Linked DNA regions of Homo sapiens: region 1 is linked to region 2. Evidence: promoter capture Hi-C in 16 types of primary human blood cells and fetal thymus (Javierre and others, 2016). All regions are on one chromosome and are shown on one strand. Each heading gives the region's core, a stretch centred on a gene start or on the middle of the fragment in contact. The rest is flanking DNA. Distances are from core to core; before and after follow the strand shown. Region 1 has its middle 22 kb from the start of MMP13. Region 2 holds the start of BIRC3 (baculoviral IAP repeat containing 3).

The links. Contacts are between HindIII fragments. The CHiCAGO score rates a contact against its expected background, and 5 or more counts as called.
Region 1: a contact is called between a fragment that was not itself captured here and the fragment with the promoter of BIRC3 in region 2, in 2 of 17 cell types (M2 macrophages and M1 macrophages). The highest score is 5.5, in M2 macrophages.

The regions. Positions count from the first base shown.
Region 1 is chr11:102,930,474-102,937,712 of GRCh38, forward strand. No RefSeq gene overlaps it. Among named protein-coding and RNA genes, the nearest start is that of MMP13, 22 kb to the right of the region's middle. The HindIII fragment of the contact is 1,728 bases long and covers 1,133-2,860 here.
Region 2 is chr11:102,316,154-102,323,428 of GRCh38, forward strand. BIRC3 (baculoviral IAP repeat containing 3) reads left to right here and starts at 1,331. Exons shown (of 9, transcript NM_001165.5): 1 at 1,331-1,418; 2 at 5,684-7,275. LOC124902739 (a long non-coding RNA gene) reads right to left here and starts at 1,090. Exons shown (of 2, transcript XR_007062864.1): 1 at 933-1,090; 2 at 1-419. RefSeq lists enhancers at 778-1,977, 882-951, 962-1,321, 2,123-2,322, 2,583-2,632 and 2 more. The HindIII fragment of the contact is 7,438 bases long and covers 1-4,018 here.

The sequences.
Region 1 (7,239 bases), core at 747-3,246, 610 kb after region 2:
TGAAAGATGCTTTTCTATATAATAAATGAGTTCTAAATATGCCATATGAACTTGCTGTGCCTCTATTCCTTCCTGTTAGTGTTTGTTACTTTATGATTCCTTCAGTTTAAATGTGAGGAGGTATAAGTGAATTCATTCAGAGATGATTTGAACAATAACTTCCAGTGATGCAAGCCAAACTCCCCATTGCTTAGCACTTAGCCTTTGGAGATCTTAGAAGATAGTAGGAATGTAAGAAGGAAGGAAGGATGGAAGGAAGGAAGGAAGGGAGGGAGGAAGGAAGGAAGGAAGGAAGGAAGGAAGGAAGGAAAGGGAGGGAGGGGAGGAAAGAAGGAAAAAAGGGAAGGAGGGAGAGGGAGCTGGGATCTAGGAATAACCAATAATACTTCATGTTAATACATACTTTATCATTTACATGTTTCAAGGATGCTATTTTATATAATCTTTAGAGCAACCTGTGAGGTAGGCAAGGCAAGTATTTCTATCTTCATTTTAATGCACAAGAATGTGAAATACAGAGGTGCTTGAAAGTGCTAGAGCTCAAATTCAAACTTTGATATTTTATTTTTTTGGCATTACTGTGCTGCATTATCACATTTGACAGCTGTGCTGCTGTGGCCAAAACACCAAAAGAAATTCTGGGTATCTCCAGAGAGGGAATTTAAATGTGTATCTTTGGGTCTGCAGAGGCTGTGGGACCACCTCTAGTCTTGGGCTGTCGATCTTCCAGTCGCTGTGCTCTAGGGCTCATGTGCTCTTATTGTGGTCCATGCTGCAGGAAAATAGGACTAGGTGGATGTAATAGCTCCCCTGATGAGCACACACATACACACACGCTCCAGACAGCATATTCCACTTCTGCACTGTTTAATGTGTACTCATTTGGGGTGGGAGGCACATCTCCCAAGTGCCCTTTGGGCACAGCAGTTTGTAGCAGGGTGAATAGCTGCAGAATATGCAGTCTTTTCTTTCTCTTATTCCATTCCAAGGCCCCTTATTTCCTCCCATTTCTCTTCCCTTTCTCCTTGCACACTGTAATCAGCTTCTGTTGTCTAAACCCTCCTCTAAGCCAGTGACCAGCATTTCATACACAGGGGTGTTTCTGAGTCAGAATAAGACCATGAACCTGGGAAGCTTTGTAGCCAACATGACTCTCACCAAAGCAGAAAACCTGCTAGATTCATTCAAGGTCCTACAGCCAGCCCTGGCCTGCGGGTGATCATCACAGTCACCTCGTCACCATAGCTCAGGTACAGGAACCATCACAACGGGGACTGCCAGCCTGGGAGGGCATGCCAAAGTCGCTATCCTTTGTCACAGGTAAAAGATGAAACTACTCAGTGCCACACAGATAAAATGAGTCTCTGTCTTAACAGAGCGGTTGTCTAGGGATTGTAGTAGAACTATACTACCTCGGAGAGAAGCTACACGGGGAGTCACTGGAATACTGGAAGTTTTTGCACTTTCATTGAGGGTAAGAAGGGAGACCCAATTAATTTCAGGGGCCTGTTATTTCCCAGACTACTCTGCCCTTGGTCACCAAGTATGTTGCCAGTGGTCAGCAACCATGAGAATGTACCTACTTTGCCATGGGAATGATGTGTAACCCTAGGTGGTAAAATTATATAGATCAAATAATCTGATATCTTGCAACTCTAACCTGCCAGTCAATTTATATGATGAACTAAATATGTCCTGCTACTTTTAATTTTTTTTTCTTTTGAAGTGTCTTTTGTATGTTATTCTGGCACTTTTTACTTAAACTTCTCACATGAGTGGCTTGGCTCAGTTTTAAACCTAAACCTAATTTTAGTTCCTCCCTGAGAAATATACCAACAACCTCAGTAATCAGAATTGACTTGCTATATACACAGTATTGCTATCCCTAGTGAATTAGGAAGGAATGAACAAAAACTCAGAGTTAAATTTTATTTTAAGAAATTTGGACGACAGTTTTATTAATGGTAGCTTGCCCACCTCCTGAGAGCTCCAGCTATGGGAATTAGCCTAGAGGGGATATACAGAGAGCCTTCTCAAACTTGACTCAATTCTGATGATTGTGATTTCATGTTCAGTAACATACATTCAGCTGGTATAAAACTATGCTTCTACAGGGTGTGTTTTTACCCCCAGGTCCAAAGTCTTAATCCTTCTTCACTAAGTAAAGAATCATCAATGACTATACCACTGAAGGGAACACCTTAAAGTATCTTCTTCCTTTTCTCGAGGAGGAATTGGGAGTTGATAGCATCAACTGTCAGTTACTACTGGAGCTGGCAGAGAGATATGAACATATCCTCCGGATAGCGTGAGACACGTTTCAGTGATCTAAGGGTATGGCCATGTCGATGTGCTGTCTGTGGAATGACTACATACACTCCACGTGGTTTTAAAAGAATGGGTTAAGGCTCAAGAGGATTTGGTGTTTTCAGCAACTCTATGAATCCTCAGAGTTGATTCAATTACTGATGTAGAAATAAAGGCAGGCATATGTTTGGAAAAAATGACTACCTTGTACTTCAGCTGACTGGGTCATATGGCATGGCCAAGTTGTGTAAGTATGGGAGTAAATAGGTTCAGGGAAGCATTGGATGTCGACACTTTTTGTCTGTGCCCACTTGAGGATCCAGCAAGATTTTAGTCTCAGATGTTTTATGTCCCAAGTACAGTGCTTCCATCATCCCATCTGGTCTTCACCTTTCCCTGAGAGAAATTCCTGATGACTGGCTAATATTCTTTGTATTTTAGAAACCACTGGGTCGTTCCCCCTTGGCTTTGTATATGCTCAGGAAATACAGATGAATTTTAAAACTAGCCTAACTAAGATATCTAGTAAAAGAAAAACTGTTTCCTCAAACAAAGCTTAAACTTTATTCTGTGGACCAATAATAATGCATCTTTTCTTGGGCATTTGTTCCTGTTTCCTAAGCCACCATATTCCCATGCCAATAATCACCATTAGTGTGGATAGTTCAGTAGTTGGCTAAAAGGTCGAATGGTCTTCACAAAGGGCAGAAGGATCTTCTGATTCCACCACCCATCGAGGAAGGACCCTCTGTTTGTCCAGAACCAAATGAAGGGAGGCAAGACTTATTAGTTGCAAATAAAAAAAACCATGATTCATGTTTTTAGTTTTAATTCTAGATTTTTTTTTGAATTTTTAAAACAGAACTTTATGTCCTCAAAAATACACAGTAGATATACGAACACTTAATTATTTGACTAAACTGAGAAGTGGCCCTGAGGTTGTACAGACAGAGGAAGTACTTGAGGACCACTGCTGTAAACCTGAAAGAATGACTTCAGATACTGGTGTTGAGGGTGAGGTTTGTGTGTGATTTCGTGAGACCTCTCACCCATACCTCTACCACACATGACCCACTTTTACCGCCATCTTCAGGATTGAGGAAGTAGCAGCTATGACTTACTGAGCACTTGCTATGTGCCAAGGAGTCTGCTAAGTGCTGTAGATCCATTCTTTCAGTTTAGTGCATAGTTCTAGAGGTAGAATGGCTGGGTTCAAATCCCAGTTCTTCCACATACTGGTTGTGTGACCTAGGGCAAGTCTCTTCACCTCTCTGTGCTTTCTTCCTCACTCATAAGAACAAAAATAGAACTTTTGTGACAATAAGTTAATTAATGTATGTGAAGCATGTAAACATCCCTGGCACATAGAAAAGTATACATGTTTGTTACTATTATCAGCCATATTTTAGAAACTGAGACTTGGAGGGGCTACTTAGTTTCTTCAGTGTTTCACATCATTCTTCTGGGAGCAGGTTAAGAACTGCCTTGAGGCTGATTTACATAATGTTTTATAGATAATTTATTGTCTGTATTATCACATTGGCTCCAATTTCTTTACTGCAGCCACCCAGGACCATCCTCATCATCAAACCAATACTCCTGGCTAGGTGTGGTGGCTCACACCTGTAATCTCAGCACTTTGGGAGGCTGAGGCGGGTGGATCACTTGAGCTCAGGAGTTCAAGACAAACCTGACCAAAATGGTGAAACCCCATTTCTACTAAAAAGACAAAAATTAGCCGGTCACAGTGGCATGCGCCTGTAGTCCCAGCTACTCGGGAGGCTGAGGCAGGAGAATGCTTGAACCTGGAAGGCGGAGGTTGCAGTGAGCCGAGATCGCGCCACTGCACTCCAGCGTGGGTGACAGAGCAAGACTCCATCCCCACCCCCAAAAAATAAAAATAAAGAATAAAGAATAAAAAAATAAAATCCAATACTCCTGAAGGTGGAGACTTCAGATTCCAACAGCTTTGTGTTTTCCTCCAACAACTCCTCCACGTTCCTCATTTTGAAAGGAAATAGAAGTGTTGGTAGGCTGGAGTGGTGAAAAGGGCAAAGGAGCAGGACTGTTGTCGAGAGGTCTGGGGTAGATTTAGAATACAGTGAGACAAAAGGAGGCTATTAGATTTAGAAAAGGTGACAGCGCCACCCTGTATTTGGGCCTGCTTTGCTCTCCCCAGGCTGCAGTTCTCTGCAGGTTCAGGGATGTGCCTTCAGATGCCTGTACCCACCCATTTCCTATACTGTCCCTTTCTGTAGCTACGGGTAGCTACTGAGCACTGGAAATGTGGCTGGTCAGAATTCAGATATGCTGTTAAGGATGAAACACACACCAGATTTTGAAGACTTTATGTGAGAAACAGGAGGTAAAACCATCTTTTTAAAAAATCTTCATTAGCTGAGCATGGTGGCTCACGCCTGTAATCCCGGGACTTTGGGAGGCCAAGGCAGGTGGATCACCTGAGGTCAGGAGTTCGAGGCCAGCCTGGCCAACATGGTGAAACCCCATCTCTACTAAAAATACAAAAATTAGCTGGGTGTGATAGTGCACACCTGTAATCCCAGCTATTCAGGAGGCTGAGGCAGAAGAATCGCTTGAACCCAGGAGGTGGAGGTTGCAGTGAGCCGAGATCATGCCACTGTACTCCAGCCTGGGTGACAGAATGAGACTCTGTCTCAAAAAAAAAAAAAAGATAAAATATATCATTTAAGTTCATTTTACCTATTCCTTTTTACTGCTTTTAATGTGGTCACTAGAAAATGTAGACTTCTGCATGTGACTTGTGCTATAGTTCTCTTAGACAGGGCTGCTCTAGACCACAGGTCCCCTGAATTTCCTACTTCCAACGCCTCAGTGGGCCTCTTCCACAGGCTCATTCTCCCAAGGGTGGAACCCCTCAATGATGTGCACACCCCTAGTGGTGGCCAATGGACTACCGGGTCAGCAGATGTGGAGGGACCTATAGGTGGCATGTCCATACCCTTGCACCTAAAGTCCCTTGCAATGCAGAGCAAAGCCAGGGATCGGAAGAGAAGAACCAGCCCAGAGGAGGGGCCTCATAAGTGTCAGGGACAGACCTGGACTCTGGTAAAGGTGGCCTTGAGGAGGTCAAAGAACATGTATTGTTGCAGGAGATGACAGTGAGGGAGCTGGAAGAATAAAGGTTGGGATTGGCATTTATTCTGACAATGTCTCAAGCAACGCTATAGGGTGTGCACTCATGTGAGTGGGGGTGCAGGTCTTTGCAGTTGACAGCTATTTTTGGGGTGGGGGAAGAGCGAGATGGAGTCTCGCTCTTGTCAGCCAGGCTGGAGTACAATGACATGATCTCAGCTCACTGCAACCTCTGCCTCCTTGGTTCAAGTGATTCTCCTGCCTCAGCCTCCTGAGCAGCTGGGATTACAGGTGCCACCATCATTCCCAGCTTATTTTTGTATTTTTATTAGAGACAGGGTTTCTACTAAACCCATGTTGGCCAGACTGGTCTCAAACTCCTGCAGGCAATCCACCTGCCTCAGCCTTTCAAATGTCTGGGATTATAGGCATGAACCACCATGCCCGGCTGACAGCTATTTTCTTTCTGAAGAAAGAAGTCAACTTTATGGCTAAAGGCAAAAGGGAGAGGAAAACTATAAGCTGTGTGAAATAGTGTAAAATGTAAGATTGTTGTATGTATTTGTCTCAATATTTATGTCTTCACTAAAGGCAGAGGCCAGCCTCTCATCCATAAATAGTGGGACACAACCTCTGGCAGGAACCAGAACTTGAGCCCCTCACGTCAACCAAACGGAAAGAAGGTAGGCACAATAGCAGGTGCCTGTAGTCCCAACTACTCAAGAGACTGAGGGCAGGAGGTTTGCTTGAGCCCAGGTGTTCGAGGCTGTAGCGCATAATGATTGCATCTGTGAATAGCCATGACACTCTAGCCTGGGCAACATAGCAAGATTCCTGTCTGTAAAAAAAAAGTATCCACTGGGAAAAGAGTATTTAAAAAGCAGAGACTCTAATATCCCACATCTATAAGGAACATAAACCAATTTACAAGCAAAAACCAAACAACCCCATTAAAAGGTGAGCAAAGAACACAAACACTTTTGAAAAGAAGACATGTATGCAGGCAAGAAGTATATGAAAATAGCTCAATATCACTAATCATTAGAGAAATGCAAATCAAACCACAGTGAGATACCATCTCACATCAGTAAGAATGGCTATCAGCAAAATGTCAGAAAATAACAGATGCTGGCAAGGTTGTGGAGAAAAGGAAACACTTATACACTGTGGGTGGGAGTGCGAATTCATTCAACCATTGTGGAAAGCAGTTTGGCAATTCTCAGAGAATTAAAAACAGAACTACCGTTTGACCCCAAAATCTCATTACTGGGTATATACCCAAATGAATATAAATCATTCTACCACAAAGACAAAGGCACACATTATGTTCATTGCAGCACCAGTCACTATTGCAAAGACATGAAATCAACCTAAATGCCCAGCAGTGGTAGATTGGATAAAGAAAATGTGGTACGTATACACCGTGGAATACTATGCAGCCATAAAAAAGAACAAACTCATGTCCTTTGCAGGAATATGGTTGGAGTTGGAGGCCATTATCCTTAGCAAATGAACGAACACAGGAACCAAAAAACAAATACCATATGTTCTCCTTATAAGTGGGAGCTAAATGATGAGAACACACGGACACAAAAAGGGGAACAACAGACACTGGGGCCTACTTGAGGGAGGAGGGTGGGAGGAGGGAGAGGATCAGAAAAGGTAACTGTTGGGTACTAAGCTTAGTACCCAGGTGACTAAATAATCTGAACAAACCCCCGTGAGACAAGTTTACCTATACAACAAACCTGCACATGTACCCTTGAATCTAAGATAAGAGTTAAAAATAAAATAAAAATAAAAAGCCGAGACTCTGGC
Region 2 (7,275 bases), core at 81-2,580:
GTTTACATTTTGTAGATTCTTGACATGTACAAGAGCTTTATGTTTTAATGTTAAGTTAAAAATGGGCAAGGGAATGCAGAGCTTTTCAAAATTCTTCTGGTGAGTACATAATCAAAAATGTGTAAGGCCTGCAAATTATTTTCAATAATCTCAGGAGTGAGTTGAAAATGGCTTAGAAAGTCTTGATTGAAGCAGACTCAAATGTGGATTAAAATCTCCATATGATAAATACACTTAGTCTTTCTGAAATAATTCCAACTGGAACTTCAGCTGCTATGGACAGCCAAGTCCACCTAAACAAGAGGATGCCTCAGCTCAGTCCAATTGCGTGCAGAATGCACTGGATGCTGTTTCCACAGAACGATGAAGTCTCCAATAATCTTTATGGGCTCTGTCTCTGGTTGGTAATTGTCTTTGATCTACTGGAAGATAGAAAATCAGATGAGCTCTCCAAATCCATCTGTTACCCTGGTACGGATGGCTCTCAGATAAAGTTGCTTAAATTTACTGCTTAGAGAACGTTGAGGGAAATATGGCAGTGCAATTAGACTCAAAGATGTCAGGTTTCCCTGAGAATGGCACTGCAACTCAGAAACCTGCCCTGTGAGATCAAAGGCTATAAAGGAGGGATTTTTTTAAGTAGCCAACTCCACCCTACTTATTAAAAAAAAAAAAAAAACAACTCACCAAACCAAACAAAAGTATTTCCATACAGAAAATTTACCAAGCCATTTCAATCTTTAAAATGGTAAAATAAACTGCAAAGGAGAACTGCATGATTTTTTTCACATACCCCTACATTTCCTTTCACCTCTTACTTTCTTGATCAGAACAAAAAGTAAAAATAAATAGAAATATTTCACAAAGTTTCGATTTTTTTTTTTTTAAATGCTGGACTTCTGCAGCTATAGTAGAAGATTGAAAAACCTAACCTTTTTACGTGTAAAGTGTATGGCGGATGGAGGGTGGAGAACAGGGCATATTGACCTTTTCCAGGCAGGCTAAGCAATGATCGTCCTCTCTATATGGGTTGTTATCAAGATTTCCTCTGACCCACGAGCAATGAAGCAAATGTCTTTCAGTAAATGCCGCGAAGATATGCCACGGTTAAGAGTCATGCTTTTGGGTCATGGAAATCCCCGAGTGGGTTTGCCAGGCCACTGATTAAGAGGAAGTGTGTGTGGTTATTACCGCTGGAGTTCCCCTAAGTCCTAAAAGGAAAGCACCAGTGCACATGCAAACCACTGGGAGGAGTGCGGAACGCCTGGTACAGATAGGGGTGGGGATTTGGGTGACGCATTTAAAAGACAGCGTGAGACTCGCGCCCTCCGGCACGGAAAAGGCCAGGCGACAGGTGTCGCTTGAAAAGACTGGGCTTGTCCTTGCTGGTGCATGCGTCGTCGGCCTCTGGGCAGCAGGTGGGCAAGGAAGGCTGGTGTGTGTGTGTGTGTGTGTGCGTGTGTGTGTGTGTATGTGTGCGCGCGCGCGCGCCTCCCCTGGTGTAAGAGATGTGCCAGCGGCTGGCCGAGGGGCGCTTAGGGCTAGAGCCCGGGGCGCTGCAGAGGTTGAGAGTCAGTGGGTGGGGCGCAGTTATCAAACACCAGGGCCCAAAAGCAGGCTCTAGATAGGTTCCAGGTGCTCAATTTCTATTTCACGTTTGGAGTGAGCCAGTGGAATTGTGAAGTTGTGGCATTTTGATTCGGTTGCCAAGAGTTATCACTGGGCCTTTGCAGGTGCCAAATAAATTTCAGGACAGAGCCTAAGGCAGAGCTCTGGCACAGGAAGGAAGTAAAACGTTTAATGAGCAAATGGACGCATGTTTCCAAGCGGTGGTAGGAAGACAGCAGTTTTTGGTTGTCTTCCTGGTGATCAGCATGGAAACCTAGTAGTGCTCTTACTCTGATCAATACATTGTCGAAGGCATGTACCTGATGCTAACGTAACAATAATATTAAATATTGACTTTATTTGCTATTATTTATTGCTAACATTAAGTACTGCTACCTGCTATGTGCTAGGTTTGTCTCTGAAGACTTTACATGTATTTTTCACGTTTAATTATCATAATCTTAAGAAGCAGGTACCATAATTATCTCCATTTGACAATGAGGAAACTGAGGCTCTTGGAGATTTACTTGTGCAAGGTCATGCTTCTGGTTACCGGACTGCTTGGTATTGGGCACCCCCGATGTCTGACTCCAAAGCCTGATACTAATCAATCACTGAGCTGACTCTGTGGTCATTAATATAAAATTGATAGAAGTACTGTGGTCACTCAGGTCTCAGTCATTTACTTCTTCAACGGGAAGTCTTCGTGTCTACCCCATATACCAAGCTCTGCAGATGCTATGAGTGGGAGGGCAGGTACAGAGATGAAACATATTAATAGTTGCCATTCTAAAAGAGCTTACTGTCTAGCGGGAGGCAGAAAGAAAAGGCACACTTGCCCTCCAGTGTCAGAAAAATGGATGTGCTGCATGCCCAAAGGGTAGGGATGCCCAACAGCCCTGGGACTGGGGAGGTTGCCTTCTTGGTAGGTTAAATGAATGAGTCAGAAGAGGAGAGGCTGGGGACTGAGCCAATCTGAGAAGGAACCACTAGAAATGAAAGAAGAATCCCAAGAGCTTGGTATCAGAGAAGCCCAGGGAATGGGACATTTCTAAGAGGAAGTGTGTCCCAGTGTCAGATGCAAACATTTCCATTGGTTTTAGCAAAAAAGCCATTGGTGTTATTAACACCGAAAGCAGTTTTAAGTGATGCTGACTTAATGAGTAAATGGGAGAGGGAAAATGGAGACATTAACCATACACACATGTCCAGTTTGCTTGGCTGTGAAGAGAAGGGGTGATACAGGGTAGTTGCTAGAGTGGAAAGTGTGGTTGAAAGAGGATTTTTTTTTTTTTTTTTTGAGACAGAGTCTCACTCTGTCACCCAGGCTGGAGTGCAGTGGTGCAGTCTCGGCTTACTGCAACCTCCACCTCCCGGGTTCAAGCGATTCTCCTGCCTCAGCCTCCTGAGCAGCTGGGACTACAGGTGCATGCCACCACACCCGGCTAATTTTTTGTATTTTTTTTAGTAGAGACGGGGTTTCACCGTGTTAGCCAGGATGGTCTCAGTCTCCTGACCTCGTGATCCACTCGCCTCAGCCTCCTGAAGTGCTGGGATTACAGGCATGAGCCACCACACCCGGCCGAAAGAGAATTTTAAAAATTTCTTTCATTTGAAAGTTGAGATAGATTTAAGCATGGTTATGTGAAAGGAAAAAGGCCAGTCGAGAGTGACAGGAATGAGAGTTGAAGCAATGAGGGGATGGGATTAAGAACAAGATTTCTGAGGCAGTAGGACAGTGTAGGATCCCATAAGGGGGCAAGTCTTTAACTGAGACAGCAAGTAGGTTGTGAGCCAAAACGGCTTGGATATGAGAACGTGAGAAGGTTCCTGCTCAATGATGTCTCTTTTCTTTGAGAAACAGAAGGCAAAGTAATTGACTGAAAATGAGATGGAGTGCAGTGGAGAAATTTGAGGAAGGTGTTGAAGGTTTAGAAGAGGTGCATAGGGCATGGGCTAGGGAGCTGAGCCTATTGCTAAGGGATGGCAGAGGAGTCTTAAGTGATGCTGGTCCCAGTCTGCAGGGTTGCATCTAGGTGTTGGAAATGATTAGGACAGAGGTTGAAGTGATCTAGGGTTGACATCTTGGCATATTTGTGTATATTTATTGTATAGTTGTTGCCTAAATTTCCACAAATATATGCCTTGCTGGAGTGCAGTGGTGTGATCTTGGCTTACTGCAACCTTCACCTCCCGGGTTCAAGTGATTCTCCTGCTTCAGTCTCCTGAGTAGCTGGAAATACAGGTGCGTGCCACCACGCCCGATGGTTTTTTTTTTTGGATTTTTAGTAGAGACAGGGTTTCACCATGTTGGCCAGCCTGGTCTCGAACTCCTGATCTCAAGTTATCTGCTTTCCTTGGCCTCCCAAAGTGCTGGGATTACAGGCGTGAGCCACCACGCCTGACCTAAAGCTTCTTTAGGATAAGATTTGTGTAAGGGGTTTGCAAACTCAAATGGAGGTGATATAAATGAGAAAAACTCTCAGTGTCTCTCTTTCTCTCTCTCTCTCTTTTTTTGAGACAGGGTCTTGCTCTGTCACCCAGTTTGGAGTGCAGTTATGCAGTCTCACACTGCAAGCTCTGCCTCATGGGCTCAAGTGAACCTCCTGCCTCAGCCTCTCAAGTAGCTGGGACCACAGGCAGGTGCCACCATGTCTGGCTAATTTTTGAGTTTCTTTGTAGAGATGGTGTTTTGCCAAGTCACCCAGTTTGAGGCTGGTCTCAAACACCTGGGCTCAAGCAATCCATCTACCTCAGCCTCCCAAAGTGCTGGGATTACAGGAGTGAGCCATGGCATGAGGCCTTGTGGGGTGTCTCTTTTAAATGAAAGCATACTCTGTTTACGTATTTGATATGAAGGAATATCCTTCCTTTCCACAAAGACAAAAATTATCCTATTTTTCTCAAAACATATGTCCTTTTTCTCTACTTTTCATTTTTGTTACTTTTGATGGACACATGTGTTACATTGATTTCACTTTCTCATAATTCTGCTGTAAGAAAAACAATAGTGCCAGTTCAATGACAAATAGCAACAGTCTGTTATTGCTAGACTGTTACTGTTAGTGGAGACTACCAGAACAGTCAGTCCCAGTGTCAGGGAATCAAAGAGAACATGTTCCCTCTCTAAAGGGCACAGCTGCTGCTCAGCTTTAGCTGATTGCTGCCCTGCAGGACTATAGGCCCAGTGTTGCTAGATCTTTTGATGTTTCAAGAGAAGCTTGGAATCTAGAATGTGATGGGAAGTCTCTTACATTTAAACATGTTGGCAATTAATGGTAAGATTTAAAAATACTGTGGTCCAAGAAAAAAATGGATTTGGAAACTGGATTAAATTCAAATGAGGCATGCAGATTAATCTACAGCATGGTACAATGTGAATTTTCTGGTTTCTTTAATTGCACTGTAATTAGGTAAGATGTTAGCTTTGGGGAAGCTAAGTGCAGAGTATGCAGAAACTATTATTTTTGTAAGCTTTCTCTAAGTATAAATAAATTTCAAAATAAAAATAAAAACTTAGTAAAGAACTATAATGCAATTCTATGTAAGCCAAACATAATATGTCTTCCAGTTTGAAACCTCTGGGTTTTATTTTATTTTATTTTATTTTTGAGACAGAGTCTTGCTGTGTCACCCAGGCTGGAGTGTAGTGGCACTATTTCGGCCCACTGCAACCTCCACCTCCCAGGCTCACATGATTCTCCTGCCTCAGCCTCCGGAGTAGCTGGGATTACAGGCGCGTACCACCACACCCAGCTAATTTTTGTATTTTTAGTAGAGATGGGGTTTCACCATTTTGGCCAGGCTGGTTTTGAACTCCTGACCTCAAGTGATCCACTTGTCTTGGCCTCCCAAAATGCTGGGATTACAGGCGTGAGCCACTGCACCAGGCAGAGGCCTCTGTTTTTTATCTCTTTTTGGCCTCTACAGTGCCTAGTAAAGCACCTGATACATGGTAAACGATCAGTAATTACTAGTACTCTATTTTGGAGAAAATGATTTTTTAAAAAGTCATTGTGTTCCATCCATGAGTCGTTTGAGTTTTAAAACTGTCTTTTTGTTTGTTTTTGAACAGGTTTACAAAGGAGGAAAACGACTTCTTCTAGATTTTTTTTTCAGTTTCTTCTATAAATCAAAACATCTCAAAATGGAGACCTAAAATCCTTAAAGGGACTTAGTCTAATCTCGGGAGGTAGTTTTGTGCATGGGTAAACAAATTAAGTATTAACTGGTGTTTTACTATCCAAAGAATGCTAATTTTATAAACATGATCGAGTTATATAAGGTATACCATAATGAGTTTGATTTTGAATTTGATTTGTGGAAATAAAGGAAAAGTGATTCTAGCTGGGGCATATTGTTAAAGCATTTTTTTCAGAGTTGGCCAGGCAGTCTCCTACTGGCACATTCTCCCATTATGTAGAATAGAAATAGTACCTGTGTTTGGGAAAGATTTTAAAATGAGTGACAGTTATTTGGAACAAAGAGCTAATAATCAATCCACTGCAAATTAAAGAAACATGCAGATGAAAGTTTTGACACATTAAAATACTTCTACAGTGACAAAGAAAAATCAAGAACAAAGCTTTTTGATATGTGCAACAAATTTAGAGGAAGTAAAAAGATAAATGTGATGATTGGTCAAGAAATTATCCAGTTATTTACAAGGCCACTGATATTTTAAACGTCCAAAAGTTTGTTTAAATGGGCTGTTACCGCTGAGAATGATGAGGATGAGAATGATGGTTGAAGGTTACATTTTAGGAAATGAAGAAACTTAGAAAATTAATATAAAGACAGTGATGAATACAAAGAAGATTTTTATAACAATGTGTAAAATTTTTGGCCAGGGAAAGGAATATTGAAGTTAGATACAATTACTTACCTTTGAGGGAAATAATTGTTGGTAATGAGATGTGATGTTTCTCCTGCCACCTGGAAACAAAGCATTGAAGTCTGCAGTTGAAAAGCCCAACGTCTGTGAGATCCAGGAAACCATGCTTGCAAACCACTGGTAAAAAAAAAAAAAAAAAAAAAAAAAAGCCACAGTGACTTGCTTATTGGTCATTGCTAGTATTATCGACTCAGAACCTCTTTACTAATGGCTAGTAAATCATAATTGAGAAATTCTGAATTTTGACAAGGTCTCTGCTGTTGAAATGGTAAATTTATTATTTTTTTTGTCATGATAAATTCTGGTTCAAGGTATGCTATCCATGAAATAATTTCTGACCAAAACTAAATTGATGCAATTTGATTATCCATCTTAGCCTACAGATGGCATCTGGTAACTTTTGACTGTTTTAAAAAATAAATCCACTATCAGAGTAGATTTGATGTTGGCTTCAGAAACATTTAGAAAAACAAAAGTTCAAAAATGTTTTCAGGAGGTGATAAGTTGAATAACTCTACAATGTTAGTTCTTTGAGGGGGACAAAAAATTTAAAATCTTTGAAAGGTCTTATTTTACAGCCATATCTAAATTATCTTAAGAAAATTTTTAACAAAGGGAATGAAATATATATCATGATTCTGTTTTTCCAAAAGTAACCTGAATATAGCAATGAAGTTCAGTTTTGTTATTGGTAGTTTGGGCAGAGTCTCTTTTTGCAGCACCTGTTGTCTACCATAATTACAGAGGACATTTCCATGTTCTAGCCAAGTATA